Linked DNA regions of Homo sapiens: region 2 is linked to region 1. The links are contacts of gene promoters, found by promoter capture Hi-C in blood cells and fetal thymus (Javierre and others, 2016). All regions are on one chromosome and are shown on one strand. Each heading gives the region's core, a stretch centred on a gene start or on the middle of the fragment in contact. The rest is flanking DNA. Distances are from core to core; before and after follow the strand shown. Region 1 holds the start of ZNF454 (zinc finger protein 454). Region 2 holds the start of GRM6 (glutamate metabotropic receptor 6).

What was found. Contacts are between HindIII fragments. The CHiCAGO score rates a contact against its expected background, and 5 or more counts as called.
Region 2: the fragment with the promoter of GRM6 here is called in contact with the fragment with the promoter of ZNF454 in region 1 in 17 of 17 cell types (M0 macrophages, naive CD8 T cells, neutrophils and 14 more); the score reaches 13.5 in M0 macrophages.

What each region holds. Positions count from the first base shown.
Region 1 is chr5:178,938,401-178,946,245 of GRCh38, reverse strand. ZNF454 (zinc finger protein 454) reads right to left here and starts at 5,048. Exons shown (of 5, transcript NM_001178089.3): 1 at 4,802-5,048; 2 at 3,422-3,561. The coding sequence starts at 3,454. It overlaps ZNF454-DT (ZNF454 divergent transcript), which reads left to right and starts at 5,231. Exons shown (of 1, transcript NR_186409.1): 1 at 5,231-7,570. The HindIII fragment of the contact is 10,957 bases long and covers 2,978-7,845 here.
Region 2 is chr5:178,992,218-179,000,062 of GRCh38, reverse strand. GRM6 (glutamate metabotropic receptor 6) reads left to right here and starts at 4,743. Exons shown (of 11, transcript NM_000843.4): 1 at 4,743-4,787; 2 at 5,103-5,622. The coding sequence starts at 5,119. It also overlaps the pseudogene LOC100288803. The HindIII fragment of the contact is 9,329 bases long and covers 2,476-7,845 here.

The DNA of each region.
Region 1 (7,845 bases), core at 3,799-6,298:
CAGGGAGCTGGCGTTCTGTGACAAGTTCATCACTCTTCAGGGTCTCCTAGGGGCCTAGCCTTGGACTAGACATTGCTCTCCACGCTGAAGAAACATATATGGTGGCGAAGATAGGCTTTCTCAGCACTGGGACTTCCAACTTGCCATTCATTTAGCCCAGAACATTTTCTCCATCTCCCTCAAACCGCCTAGCCCTGCCTCTCCGCTCACCCCAGGGGACCAAATCCTACGCAGGTCTCAGCATAGACACGGCTCACTCAACACCGCTCGCTCAGCGCAGCCTTCCCTGATGGCTCCTACAGTTGCCTATGAGGGCCCATCAAGACACTGTCCCATTTTATTGTGATGTTTGGTTTACCTTCAGTCTCCCCCGCTGGACTGTTAACTCCAAGATGTGGACTGTCTGTCTCTACATCTCTTGGCCTTCCCTGCATCTGGAACACGGCCCATGTACTCGACACCTATCTGTGGCTGCTCAGCAACTCCTGCTTTTCTTCAGTGTGTACCTCCCCATCCTCAACACACACACACACCCATACCCACACCCCCCCACACACAGAGACACACACACACAAGCATACATACCCATACCCTTCCACATACACACACACACAAAACACACACCCATATCCACACCCCCTACACACAGAGACACATACACAAGCACACAGACACACACATACACCTATATACAAACACAGACCCATACCCACACCCCCCACACAGAGATGCACAGACACAAGCATACACACCCATATCCCTCCACATACACACACACGACACACCCCCCCCACATTCACATACACACACAAGCATACACACACCCATATCCGTACCCCTCACAAACACACATAAACTCACACACAGACACAGAGACACACACACACAACCCATATCCATACACCCACATACAAACACACACAAACATACACAGACAGACACGTACCACACAAGTGCGCATGCACATACACACAACACATACCCATACCCATACCCCAACATACAAATACACACACAGAGACACACACACAAACACACAGACACATACACACAAACTCACATACAAAGACACAGCCCTACACATCCCCCAGACCCTCAACACACACACGACACACACGCACACATGCAAGCGCGCACACACACCCGAACACACACACCCCCCCACAAATACCCCCACACACACCCTGTGACACACACCCTCAACACACACACACACATGCACACGTGTGCACATGTGCATACACACACATGGGTCCCATGGAACCAGTCATTCTGCACAATAGGAAACTTGTTCCTTCTGATTAGAACTAGTCCCTTTCTTAGAAACTCTGAGAGGGGGTCACAGAGGAAAGTCTCTCTGTCCTGACACACAGGTGTAGCCGAAACCTAACCTAGCATGTAAAATCCAGTAGCTATCACAGCTCTTGTCTTCCCAGTTGGCTGAGAAGTTAAGGGAGCTGGTGTTCACTGAGAAAAAAGAGGTAAGCAGAAGCCCAGAGAAGGAACCAAAGGTCCAAGAGAAAGGACTCTCAGGTTATTGTAGATCCCACTTCCACAGTCAACATCTAGCTGTGTCTTTGCCTTTGCATTTGGGGGAACACCTCCATATCTTTCCAGTCAGTGCCTGCTTCTGCCTGAGGCAGTCTGAATTAGGTTTCCGTTACCTGCACCCAGAGACTTGGCCCATGACAGGCAGTCAAGAAACACTTGGATGGAAGCCATGAACCAATTTGTCAGGGCCCATTTATCGTTCACTTTGTATTTGTAGCCCAGATCATAATTCCTGGCACATTTTACAGCCCTAACATATGTCTGCTGAATGGCAACCAAATCAAGGCAGCCTATAAACACAAGATAAATTGTATGACACCGACAGTGACTTTGAGGAAAAGGTTAAGGAAGGAAAATATCACAGTAGACTGGCACTGTGGGTGCGGACAGGTTTTGCAGAAAAAGTGGTGCATGAGAAGGGTCCTAAGTGACAAGTCAGAAGCCAAGAGGAGGAGGGGAACAGCCGGTGAGCTGTGCTATGTTGAACATGGCGCTCCCACCTAGCTGGTCATCCTTTCCAGTGATTCCTGCCACACATCCCAGTCCTTGGGGAGGTTTAAATGTGAAGGAATTAGAACAATTTAACCAAATGTATCAGAATGTATATGCCCAAATGAATGCTGTCTCCTTCAAAGCACAGTCCATATTCTTTTTTATTTTTTATTTTTGAGATGGAGTCTCGCTCTGTCACTCAGGCTGGAGTGCACTGGCACAATCTTGGCTCACTGCAAGCTCCGCCTCCTGGGTTCACGCCATTCTCCTGCCTCAGCCTCCCGAGTAGCTGGGACTACAGGCGCCCACCACCACGCCCAGCTAATTTTTTTTGTAATTTTAGTAGAGACGGGGTTTCACTGTGTTAGCCAGGATGGTCTCGATCTCCTGACCTCGTGATCCGCTGGCCTTGGCCTCCCAAAGTGCTGGGATTACAGGCGTGAGCCACCGCGTCTGGCCCATATTCTTATTCTAAAGATGCTAGGACTGCTCAAAGCGTTTTAGGAATTTATAGGACTTTTTGGCAGAATAGTCTTTTGAATAATTTCATTGGTAAAAAAACCAAATGTCATAAAAGAAAAAGAGTCTAGTAAATCACACCTCCCCAGAAAAGTGTTCCTACAATGCCCTTCTTTGAGCTCTGTGTGAGATACTGCCCTGATATAGTTTGGATGTATGTCCCTTCCAACTCTCCTGTTGAAATGTGACCTCCAATGTTGGAGGGGGGGCCTGGTGGGAGGTGTTGGATCATGGGGGTAGATCCCTCGTGAATGGCTTAGTGCCATCCTCTTGGTGATGAGTGAATTCTCGCTCAGTTGGTTCACGTGAGATCCAGTTGTTTAAGAGTCTAGGACCTCCCACTTCTCTCTCTTGCTCCCTTTCTCACCGTGTGATACACCTGCTCCCCCTTCACCTTCTGCCATGATTGGAAGCTTTTAAAGTCCTCATCAGAAGTGGATGCTGACACCATGCTTCCTGTACAGCCTACAGAACCGTGGGCCAATTAAACTTCTTATCAATTCCCCAGCCTCAGATATTTATTTAGAGCAATGTAAAAAGGGACTAATACATGCTTTTACCACTTCAGATCCCTAATCTTACTTGCTAGTGAAAAGAGTACAGGTTTTGATTTCACAGGGACCTGGGTTCCAGTCCCAGCTGTGACATTTATGTGACCTTTAGCAAGTTATACAGCTGCAACACCCACCAGGATGAGCCGGATATGGGGCGGGGTTGGAGGGTGTTGGTTGGGGAGAGGCAACTGAGGTCAGTGTCTGGGTGGGACTGGATTGGGAATAAAGCTCCCGGTCTGAGGAAGCAAACATGCCACACTCTTCAAATCCAGAAAGCAATTTAGGGGGAAGAAACCCCCACTCACCTGGACCATGGTTGGCAGGTGGCTGACAGCCATTCTTTCTTCTCCGATGAGCCCTCTTAGGGACAGGCAAAGTGCTATGGAGGCAGGTGTGGAGCTTCACACCTGCAGGACTCCTCAGGCTAGAAGGGTCCACACACCTGCTATTAGGAGAGAACTGGGTCAAAAGCTCTCATACAGCAGTCCAGAGCGAGGCAGTGAGCATTCACATCCTGGGAGGCCTCCAGTACCCCAAGCAGTGAGTGTTTTGGTTCCTGTTTGCTCCCCATTCTCTCTCCTCCTTCTGAGGGTACTATACATTGACTTTTCCCTGCAGAAAGCCTGCTCCAGGTCCAGTTCTCATGCCTTCCACCCACCCTCTGGTCTTTCCCTTCAGCCTCACTGAGCGATCTCAAGAGAATTCTTTTTTTGTTTGTTTGTTTGAGACAGAGTCTCGCTCTGTCACCTAGGCTGGAGTGCAGTGGCACGATCTTGGCTCACTGCAACCTCCGCCTTCCGGGTTCAAGCGATTCTCCCGCCCCAGTCTCCGGAGTAGCTGGGATTACACGCACCCGCCACCACGCCCGGCTAATTTTTTATATTTTTAGTAGAGACCGGGATTTCACCATGTTGGTCGGACTGGTCTCGAACTCCGGACCTCAGGTGATCGGCTCGCCTCGGCCTCCCAAAGTACTGGGATTACAGGCGTGAGCCGCCGCACTCGGCCGAGAATTATCTCTTTAACAAGTTATTCAGCTCCAGAACCCACCAGGATGTACCCGAAAAGGTGGGAGCGCTGGGGAGAGGCAACGGAGGGCAGTGTCTGGGTTCGACTGGATTGGAAGACCGCTCCGCTCTCCCTCTGCGGCTTTGGAACAGCTGCCTTATCTGGCAGTGACAGGAGAAGAGGAAAAGGAGGGTGGTCTTCTTCCTCCTCAGAAAGGAGGCTAAGAAGGCTCTTCACTGTCGAAGCCTCTCAGGCAAACCCTTCTCTGGCCTCAGTGTTCTCACTCTCTGGGGCCCAGTCTGGGTGGCCTGGAGTCACGGGTGGGCAGAAGCGGCGTTTGTGTGAGCTGGGCGGGAGGGGAGAGGGAAGGGTTAGGAACCCTAATCACACACAGCCCCGTCCCGCCCCTGCCGCTTCGCCAGGTCCCTCGGGGGCTGTGGCAGGGGCTGCGCAGCGGCTGCCTCCGGCCTTGGCGAGTTCCTGGCGCAGGACTCGGAACCACGCCAGGCGTGTATCTATCACCTGAGAGGAAACCCTGGGCTTCTCGGAGTCCGCTCCAAGACACATGCCAGAGGCCCTGGCTCCATCTCCTCCACAGGCACTCACAGACTCGACCCTCAGCCCAGGATGACCACCCCTGGCCGTCCTCCCTCTCTGGGATCAAATCTCAGACATACATTCCGGGAAGTTTGGGGCATTCGATCAGCGTCCTCCAGAATGGACCACAACCCGCACCTCCTCGGCTTTGCCTCCGCCCTTCTCCCCAGACGACCTCACGACCGCTCCCGCTCTCCCTCTGCGGCTTTGACCACCGTGCCTGGTCAGCCCCGTGTCGCTCTTCGAGGAGCCTCTGCCGGCGGCGAGAGATCGCAAGCGCCACATCGCAGTCAGAACACAATGAGCTGGAGTCTGCAGCCGGGAGCCGAACTGCGCTTGCGCGTTGCCCTGGGAACCCTTGGGCCGAATTCCCACAAGTCTCAGGGCTGCTGCAGTTCCGCCGGCCAGACTCCACTTCCCAGAGGGACAATCGGCGGAGACAGTGCTGCCTTGCGCCTGCGGGAACAGGGCCCGGCCCCGGCGCTTTAGGCGCGGAAACTACCTTTCCCAGAGACCCCTCCACGCCGACCTCAGCGCGCTCATTGCAACTTACAGAATCGGTTCCGTTCCGTTCGCTTTAGAACCAGGTCTCTGCCTTGCACTAAGGCGCAGGAAGATGCAGATCAGCGAAAAGCTGAAGATGGGGCAAGGGAGGTTAGTCCAGGGGAGCGACGCCCGATCGCTGACGAGAGAGGATCGGGAGGGTCCGGAAGACGGAGTGGGAGGCGACAGGGCGCGTTCCTGACTGGGACCGCGCCGAAAAGGCCTGGAAGGCAACAGAATTGCCCCTTGGCCTGGCAAGCGCCCGACACTTCCAGCCTGGCACTGCGGGCGGGCCAGCGTGTGCTGGGGTGGCGACGCCACAGCCACTAACGCGTGTGCGGTGCGGGAGGACAAGGATGTCGGGCAGGGATGTCCTGCTTGGCACCTCAGGACAGAGCCCATGGTGGCTGGCGGCCCCTGGAATGTTCGGGACGCAGAACACTTCGTGCTTGGGAACTTCTCAGAGGTGGGGACGAGGGAGAGGAAGGCGCCTGGATGCCAGGAAGTCTCCATCTTGGACAGCTGGGTGGTATTTAAGAAGGTGGTATTTATTTTTGTCGACCATATTTTGCAGAGACTGGCAAGGATGAGATGATGCCTAAGAATATCCAACTGGAGATACTTAGTTGCTTTTGAATAGGTAATTTGCATGGAGCTCAGGAAGGAAAGATGAGAGGGTTTTAACTTTGTTGGTCGTTAAAAAAAATCAAGAATGTGACCTGTTTGTCACATACGGAATTGTTGGCCACGTTTTAGGAAGCAGTGTCAGTGACTACAGCATTCTGTTTGGAGTTTTATTGAAGATTTCATTCCATAGACACTTTGGAGCACTTATGTGTCAAGTGCTTGACAAGGCCAGGGTCAGCCGCTGTGCAGCCCCTGTAGCAGTTCCCAGGGACCCGGCAAAGCACCAGAGGGGGAGGATGTTGTGTGAGTATCGCTGGTAACCCTTCTCTCTCGCCTCCCTCGTGACTCCAGGTCACTCAAACTGGGCTCCAGAGAGTAAGAACCCCGAGTCCAGGGGCTGGAGAAATAGCTGTGAAAACCCTGCACTCATGGAGTTTTAATTGTACTAGAGGAGGGGTCAGACAAGTAGAAAGTATTTATCTGGTAGTGATAACACTACTGTTAGGGGTTAGGGTGTGATGGGGCGGGGAATTATTTCAAGCAGCAGTTTTGGAAGTTCTCTTTGAGGAGGTAACACCTGAGCAGAGATTTGAATACAGTGAGGGAAGAAACGATGTGACTGTATGGGTAAAGTGCCTTCTAAAGGGAGGGAACAGAAATGCTGACCAGAGAGAAGTGTGCTTGGTGAACTCCAGGCTTGGCAAGGTCAGTATGACTGGCGAGGGCCTACTGAACAAGGAAGACTGCGAGATGCTGTTGCAGGAGTAACTACAGGCCTTGAAGGAAGGAAATTTGGATTTATTTCTGTGCCTGGAAATGATTAGATTTGAAAGAGTGACATGGCTGGGCACGTTTTGATAGACGCACTGGTCAGCTTCAAAGAAGGCAGACAGTGGTGGGGCTAGAGGGGATACAGGAAGACCAATGAGGAGGCAATGACAGCAGTCCACAATTACAAGTAGCCTCCCACAATTATATAACCTTTCCACAAGGCATTTGCTTTGAGAGCCTAATGATTCTAAGATATTGAAGGGTTTTGGGTGCTATGCTCAGGAGTTTGGATATTATTGTTTTCAGGAATTTAAGAATGATAATATGTATTGAGCACTAACTACATGTTGGGAGTTTTTTTGTTTGAGACACAGTTTCACTTTTGTTGCCCGGGCTGGGGTGCAATGGCATGACCTCGGCTTACCGCAAGCTCCGCCTCCCGGGTTCAAGCAATTCTCCTGCCTCAGCCTCCCCTGTAGCTGGGACTACATGCATGCGCCATCACGCCTGGATAATTTTGTACTTTTAGTAGAGATGGGGTTTCCCCAGGTTGGTCAGGCTGAACTCCTGACTTCAGGTGATCCGCCCGCATCGGCCCCCTAAAGTGCTGGGATTACAGGCATGAGCCACTGCGCCTGGCCATGTTGGGCACTTTTACAAGCACTTTACATTATCTAATGCAACCAAAAACTGAGGTTTGCCCTATTAATAAATGAGAAAACTGAGGCACTCATCTGTTAAGTGCCTTGCTCAGGTCCCATGTCCTTGGAACCAGGAGTCCTTCTCCTGTTGATGTTGGAAGGTTCAAAAGTGCTCTTATTACTTGTCACCCAGATGGCAAAGAACTGACATACAAAGGCCCAAGTCTTCCAGAACTGAAAACAGTAATAAAACCTTCATTTATCTGACCCATTTGTCCTGGTGATGCTGTAGTCTGTTAGGAGTACCTAACAGGTGCCCTTCCACAGCCAACTAAAAAACAAAACTATTCAAGCTGAAGAGAAGCAGTGAAACCTCTGATATGAAGCCTGACACACCCTTTGACTTTAGCCAGGACTCACACACTATATTGTTCTGAGTATTCACTGAGGAAGCCCCCGCTTCTGTCAAGGATTCTCATCAGGAACCAGTCTCCTCGGAGAAAGGAGGTTAAAACGTGGTCTGGAGAACCCCTTTCCCTTCT
Region 2 (7,845 bases), core at 3,494-5,993, 54 kb before region 1:
GTCCCAGCTACTCTGGAGGCTGAGGCAGGAGAATGGCGTGAACCCGGGAGGCGGAGCTTGCAGTGAGCAGAGATCGCACCACTGCACTCCAGCCCGGGCGACAGAGCGAGACTTCCTCTCAAAAAAAGAAAATACTCCCTCTTCATTTATATAATGTCACAAACAGGCAAAACTGTACCACGGGTTATTTAGGGATAGACACTTATTTTATTATGGATTCCAAATTAACCTACACTTCATGCATTTCGTTGTTGTTGTTGTTAGTTTTGAGACAGAGTCTCGCTCTGTCACCCGGGCTGCAGTGCAGTGGTGTGATCTTGGCTCACTGCAACCTCCGCCTTCTGGGTTCAAGTGATTCTCCTGCCTCAGCCTCCCAAGTAGCTGGGATTACAGGCACGCACCACCGCGCCCGGCCCACTTGCATTTCTATGCCACACTCATAAGCGGATCATGAGGTCAGAAGATCGAGACCATCCTGGCTAACACGGTGAAACCCCATCTCTACTAAAAATACAAAAAATTAGCCAGGTGTGGTGGCGGGTGGCTGTAATCCCAGCTACTCAGGAAGCTGAGGCAGGAGAATCATTTGAACCGGAGAGGCGGAGGTTGCATCACTGCACTCCAGCCTGGGCGACAGAGCGAGACTCTGTCTCAAAAAAAAAAAAAAAAAAAAAAAAGATACGGACACTGAGGCTAAATAAAGGTACAGAGACTTGCTCAAGGTCACCTTGATAAAAAGTGACCAGGCCAAGATTTAGACCTGGGCTCTGTAGCCCTGAGTGTGCACTGAACCACCCCCCTATAGTCCCACTGGGTGCCCTTTGCTCTTTCCCCTGGATGCCTCAGGCCCAGTCAGAGGGTCTATGGAGGGAGTTATGTCCCCAAATTCTTACGCGGAAGCCCTACTGGCAATATCAGTGCTGTAAGAGTGGACGGAGCTGTAACAGGGGATGAGGTTAGATGAGGTCGCGAGGGTGGAGCCCGAATCCGATAGGCCTGGTGGCCTCATGAGCAGAGGACAAGAGGACTCTCCCTCCTCCTGCACACACCAAGAAAAGGCCACATGAGGACGCAAGGAGAAGAGGATGGTCTGCAAGCCAGGGAGAGGCCCGCCCCAGAACCCACCACGATGGCACCCTGATCTCAGACGCCCAGCCTCCAGAGCAGTGGGAAGACAAATCTCTGTTCTTTAACCCTCTGTCTGTGGGGCTTTGTTATGGCCGCCCAGCTGAGGAAAACAGCCACAGGGTCTGCAAAGCTATGGGGTGTGACCACAGGGCAGTGCGTTTGTGGCATCCAGACCCACACTTGTGCCGTGGTGAAGTTCAATGAACAGAAGCTTGTGACAGACTCCTTTGACGACACTGTGGCTTGCTGGGAATGGAGTTCCGGAGCCAGGATCCGGCACTTTCGCGGGCACACGCGGGCAGTGTTTAGCGTGGACTACAATGATACCTTGGTGAGCGGCTCTGCGGCCTTCACTGTGAAAGGATGGACTTTATCTACTGGGGCATGCCTGAGCACACTCACTGGGCACACGCCATGGGTCACCAAGGTAGTTCTGCAGAAGTGCAAAGTCAAGTCTCTCTTGCACACAGTCCTGAAGGATACCTCCTCTTAAGTGCAGACAAATATGAGATTAAGATTTGGCCAACTGGGACAGAAATCAACTGCAAGTGCTTAAAGACATCCTCTTGTCTCTGAGGTTAGAAGTATCCGCCTGCAGCCAAGACTTCGTGTTGATGGCAAATACACTGTTTGTAGTTCAGCCCTCCGTCTCTAGCAGCGGGACTTTGCCAACAGTTATGATATTCTCAGGGTCATCAAGACTCCTGAGATAGCAAACTTGGCCTTGCTTGGCTTTGGAAATACTGTTGCCCTACTGTTTGGCAGCTGCCACCTGTACATCATGGACTTGCAGACCCAGAGCCTCATTAATCGCTGGCCTCTTCCAGAGTACAAGAAATCAAAGAGAGGCTCAAGCTTCCTGGCAGGCGAAGCATCCTGGCTGAATGGAGCAGATGGGCACAATGACACGGGCTTGGCCTTTGCCACCAGTATTCCTGACCACAGTATTCACCTGGTGTGGAAGGAACACAGCTGACACCATGAGCCCCCACCACCGACTGACTATGGGTGCTAGGGCGGGGGTTTTGGGGTGCAACCTCTATGCCAGCTGACTGCATGAACCAAAGTTCTCACCTATGGTATCATCACGCAGTGCACGTCATTTATCTGTTTGCCAGGGGGCCAGGGCTTGGGGTGGGGGAGGGCTTGTTTTACTGACACACATGTAGCATGCTAACGGGGTACATCATGGACTTCATTTGTACTCAGTTAGGTTGGTGAGTGTAAAAGGATCCATTCTGGTTCATCTTTCTTGAGTGGAATATTGGTTTTATATAAAGAAAGTTAAATGATTTGTTAATCTGCTGATTGGTTGCGTATGAAATCACATTGTCTGTTATTAAAGCTTTTCACCATAAAAAAAAAAAAATCTCTGTTCTTTGACTGTCTGTGTGGAACTCTGCCATAGCAGCCCAGCTGAGGAAAACAGTCCCAGGGTCAGGGAACAGCAGGACTTCTTCTTGGGGCAACCTTTTAAATGACGTCCTGTGCATTTTGTACAAATTCTGTGCTACCTCATCGAGCCTGAGCAGCTGTATCAGGATGCTGTAAGAGGGCCCTATGGCCTGTGCGAGGTGCACTTTGGCCTTCTGCCCCTGCACGGGGCTGAATAAATTATGCTGAATGTTCCCTCCTTCCTCAATCCTTGTTTCTGGGCCCCTCTGGTGCCTACGCTCCTGCTTCTCCTCTAACTCCTCGGCCACCCCCTCCCAGTCTCCTTACTTCTGCTCAGACCTGCATGTTGGGGTTCCTGGGGCTCCAGCCTCACTGTCTGTCCACACTCTCAGCCCCAGGGAACTCCTGCGTCCCACGGCTTTAAACGCCTCCGTGGCGATCCCACCTCAGCTTTCTCTCCCGCCCTGGCCTCTTCCCTCAGTTCCAGGCTCATGAACCACGAAGCCTCCACTTTCCTGCCCAAACCCGAACTCTTGGCTTCTGCCCTCCTTGACCTGCTCAGCTGTGTCTCTGGTCCTCATATTCTCAGGGAATGCCCCAGCAGCTATGCCATCCTCCACCCCTCCAAGAGCCAAATCTCCATCAGGTCTAAAATCCTGCCACCCCCCTCCCCTTCTCCTCCAGCCCCCTGCTCACAGGTGTGCATGCCTCCCTCCTACACGGCGAGGACCCCCTGCCAGTCCCCCAGCTGCTGCCCCCGCTTCCTGATGGTCTGTCCTCCAGACAGGGGCAGTGGCTGCCTTGGTCATGCCAAGCAGGAGGCTGCTGTGTGCTGGGAGCTGTCAGGCTCGTCCTGAACAGGGAAGGGCCCATCCACCTCCCAAACCCAGTTTATGCAGTCCTTCGCAATGTCAGGCTCAGGGCCTGGCACCAGCCAAGCTCCCCACCCTTCCCACTGTTAAAATGGATAGGAGCAGGGCTAGGCCCAGCCTGTTGACTCTGGGCTTCCACCAGGAGAAGTGGTTCTGGCAGTAGAAACTATCGGGGCCTGGGAGAGGCGGGGGAAGAGAGAAAGGTGGCATGTTTCTTGCTTGCTCCCTCTACCAGCCTTGTCCAAATCCCCGCAGCCACCCTAATCCAGCCTGTCTAATGGAGCCCAAGCCGGCTCAGGCCCTCGGACGAGGAGCCTGCTAATCCCTGTGGCTAGGAGCTCACCACCTGTCTCCAGGACGCCCTTTGCTCTCTTGGCATCAGAGAGCCAAATCCTGGGCCTCGGATGGGGGGATGATAAAAGCATCTTTTGGCCAAGCCCCCTCACCTTGGCCTCCACGATGAGATGGGGAGTTAGGTGCAGAGAGCGTTGGCACAGTGAGCACCGCAGCTCGAGTGGCTGCCTCAGACCCAGAGCCCGAGGAGACTTTATACGGAGCCAGAACGACCCCGCGGGGTTCCATCCTCCCAAGCAATAGGCGGGAGTGGGAGCTGCGAGGAAAGCCGGCCCCTCCCCTCCCTCCATCCAAGGCAGTGTGGGCTGTTTGTTTCATGCCATTCTGGGTGTGAATCCTGATGCCCACACATGCCAGCTGCATGCACTTGGGCAACTCAACTCACTCCTCGAGGGCTGTTTCTCGACTGCAGGGTGTTGTAAGTTCGCTAATACTAAAGGCTTCTCCCTCCTGGCCCCTTCCTGCCCCTCGCTCTTCCTCCTCTTCCTTAGGCCCTCCCAGCTCAGGCAGCCCCTGCCCCCTGCAGGGTTCTGCAAGGAGAAAGCTGGGGAATACCTTAGGCAACTGCAGTCAGGAGCACTGGTGGCCAGGACAGAGACAGAGAGACAGAAAAGGGGTCAGGGACAGAGAGAGATAACCGCAGGGAGAGACAGGAAGGGACAGAGACAGAAAAGATTTCCAAGAAGAGGACAGAGGCAGAAAGCCAGGGACAGAGACTGAGAAACAGAGACCTAGAGGCAGAAGAAGACTGAGATAGAGATGGACAGAGATTGTGTCAGACACAGCCCCAGAGACAGCCAGACAGTCTGAGTCAGACGCAAACCAAAGACAAGAAAACAGGAAAACAGACCCAGAGATTGGGAGAGGGAGGGGAAGGAGATGCGGGGAGAGCCAGCACCGCCACCCCCCACACTCAGGAGGGGTCTCCACCCTCGGAGCGGTCTCTCATCCCTCCCTAGAATCCTTAAATCCTCTCTCGCTCAGGGCCTCGGCCGCATCTGTCACAGACTTGTCCTGAACCGACAGCGGCTGGCGCAGGTGACTGGCTTGGGGCGGGAGCCTGGGTGTGCGCTGGGGATGGACCCCGAGGAAGAGGGGCCAAGCTGTCGGGAAGCGGCAGGGCTGGAGGGGTGGAGGCAGTGGTCGGGCGGGACCCCGGGCGACAGGGTTCGGCGCTTGTAAGAGCGAGACGGAGGCCCGGGCAGGCCGGCTGAGCTAACTCCCCAGAGCCGAAGTGGAAGGCGCGCCCCGAGCGCCTTCTCCCCAGGACCCCGGTGTCCCTCCCCGCGCCCCGAGCCCGCGCTCTCCTTCCCCCGCCCTCAGAGCGCTCCCCGCCCCTCTGTCTCCCCGCAGCCCGCTAGACGAGCCGATGGCGCGGCCCCGGAGAGCCCGGGAGCCGCTGCTCGTGGCGCTGCTGCCGCTGGCGTGGCTGGCGCAGGCGGGCCTGGCGCGCGCGGCGGGCTCTGTGCGCCTGGCGGGCGGCCTGACGCTGGGCGGCCTGTTCCCGGTGCACGCGCGGGGCGCGGCGGGCCGGGCGTGCGGGCAGCTGAAGAAGGAGCAGGGCGTGCACCGGCTGGAGGCCATGCTGTACGCGCTGGACCGCGTCAACGCCGACCCCGAGCTGCTGCCCGGCGTGCGCCTGGGCGCGCGGCTGCTGGACACCTGCTCGCGGGACACCTACGCGCTGGAGCAGGCGCTGAGCTTCGTGCAGGCGCTGATCCGCGGCCGCGGCGACGGCGACGAGGTGGGCGTGCGCTGCCCGGGAGGCGTCCCTCCGCTGCGCCCCGCGCCCCCCGAGCGCGTCGTGGCCGTCGTGGGCGCCTCGGCCAGCTCCGTCTCCATCATGGTCGCCAACGTGCTGCGCCTGTTTGCGGTGAGGGCCGCGGGGCCGGGCTCGGTGTCCAGCGTCCCTCTCCCGTCCTCGCCCTGGGGTGGCCCAAGTCTCCTTCCTTTACTTCTTCTGAAAGAGTCTCCGTTTTAATCACTCGAATTCACACAGCGTCAAAGAAGCCCTGTCAGTTGAGCCCGACGCAGGCCTGAATCGGCTCCACCCAAACACTCCAGCCGCCCATGTCTACCCCGCCCCGCGAGGGCGCCCCTTCCCGGGCGGGTGCCACCTACGCCTCTGGCCGGTTGGCTGGGGAGGGCGGCCTGACTTCAGCCCCCATTTGCCAGCCTGCTCGGGTGCCCTTGTTCTGGGCACACCCCTGCAACCATACAAGGTGCTCCTGCCCCCTGGGCCTGCGGAGCGCTCGAGTGATATTGCAACTTTGAGTTTTGTTTGGAACCCGGGCCCTTCTTCCAGAGCAGCAACTGGGGCGTGTCCCTGGGCTGCTATGGGGGATGGATAGGCCTGAAAGGTCTGGTCTTTCTCTTTTTTGATCATTTAAATTTATTTTCAAAATGCCTTGAACTCTCCCTCAAGGGGCATCTGAGAGCAGGGCGGGGCGTTCCCTTCTGAGCTCTGGTCTCCTGCACCCTGCCCTGCGCAGGTGCCCGGGCTGGCCCTGCTCTGTCCTCAAATGTAGGGAACTGTCCCGTGAGGGGCAGCGTGTTCCTTGCAGTCCTAGGGGCCAGCAGAATCGGGATTAGGAGGGCTTTGGCATACAAGTTTGGGGGTTTTCGATTTGGTCATTCACTGGGGGTTGTGGGACAGTTTTTCTGGGGTTCTGTGGCGGGAGGGGCCTGTGTGCATCCGGCTCTCTGTGAAGGAGGAAGGCCTGGCTTCCATCTACCTAGGAGAGGAACTTCTGTTTCCTGAGAGCTTCTCCGACTCCCGGGCGCAGCGTCTGTGTTTGTTCCAGGCGTGCGGGGCCGCTCCCTATCGTCTGCGCACATGAAAGCCCCCATCCCTGTTTCCTCGGATTGGCAGTGTTGATGTGACATCTCCACGCTGGCACCAGACAGGCTGTGCGGCCGCCCAGGGGTTTTTCACCCACCTGTATGTGTCCCCGGCCCTGCCTAGAGCTCTAGTTTCTGTCTCTGTCCTCTAGGTCGAATGCAGAGATTCCAGACCCCAAGGCCTTCAGGGGCCCAGTTGGGGACTCAGGTGGGCAGGACTCTGTGAGCCCAGGGCCCGCTGCTGCCAGCTCAGCCCAGATTGAGGTTGTGCTGCCCGGCTAGAAATGCAAACATTAATAAAAACTGTGCAAAACACAGCCACAGGCAAGATGCTGCAATTCCTGGTCTAAAAGAACTACATTCATTTCCCAGCCACATGACCGTGCTGGCAGGCATTTTAAATTAACTTCCCTCAGGAGGTCCAGGGGGCATGGGAGGGTTGTTCCCAAACTCAAGTGTCCAGGAGAGCTGGGAGGACCACAGCATTATTCACTGAGCTGTGGCCACTGGGCCTTTCTCGTCTCTCGGTCTCCTCAGTTGTTTCTCTCTCTCTCTCTCCCTCTCTCCTTCTTGTTTCTCTCCAGCCCCACCTTCCCTCTTTCTTTCTCTCTCCCTGCCACTCCCGGCTTCCTTTTCATGCTGTCTCTATACTTTCTATCCTGCTTCAAACAACCCTGGACCAGCCCCCCTCCCTCCTTCCAGAAACTCCCCCTCTCTGGCCTTCACACCAGCTCCTGCTATAGCCCCTCTTGCGCTGGAGCCCCATAGCCCCCTCTTGGCGGCCTTCTCAGCCCCGTGTCTCTGCCTCCACACTCCCCGGTCAGTTCAGCCTCTGGTCTCTGCTGTTAATCACTCTAATGCATGCAGAGAAACCCAGTTTCCAACAATCCCCATCCTAGGCCAGACACAGCTTTAAATGGAACATCCCCTGCTGCTCCCCTGTCTGCCCTAATCCCTCCTAGGGCTGCCTGTCCCTGCGGACCACCCCTTGGTGTGAATCAAGAAAACGTGCTTTGCCCTGGGCCTGACTAGGACAGGCAGATGCAGCTGGATGGGCTGCAGGCCCTCTGCTGGGGGTCCTTGTTCAGGACACAGCTTGTACCAGTATATGTGGCGGTCCTGCCCTCTCCCCAGCCCTGCATACCTCCCACCTGCACAGCATTCACGGAATTCTCAGGCCCACTCGCAAAACACCACAGCTTCCAGCCTTTCCAGGTGGCTGCTCCAGCTGGCCCCAGGTCCCCACCCCAACCCT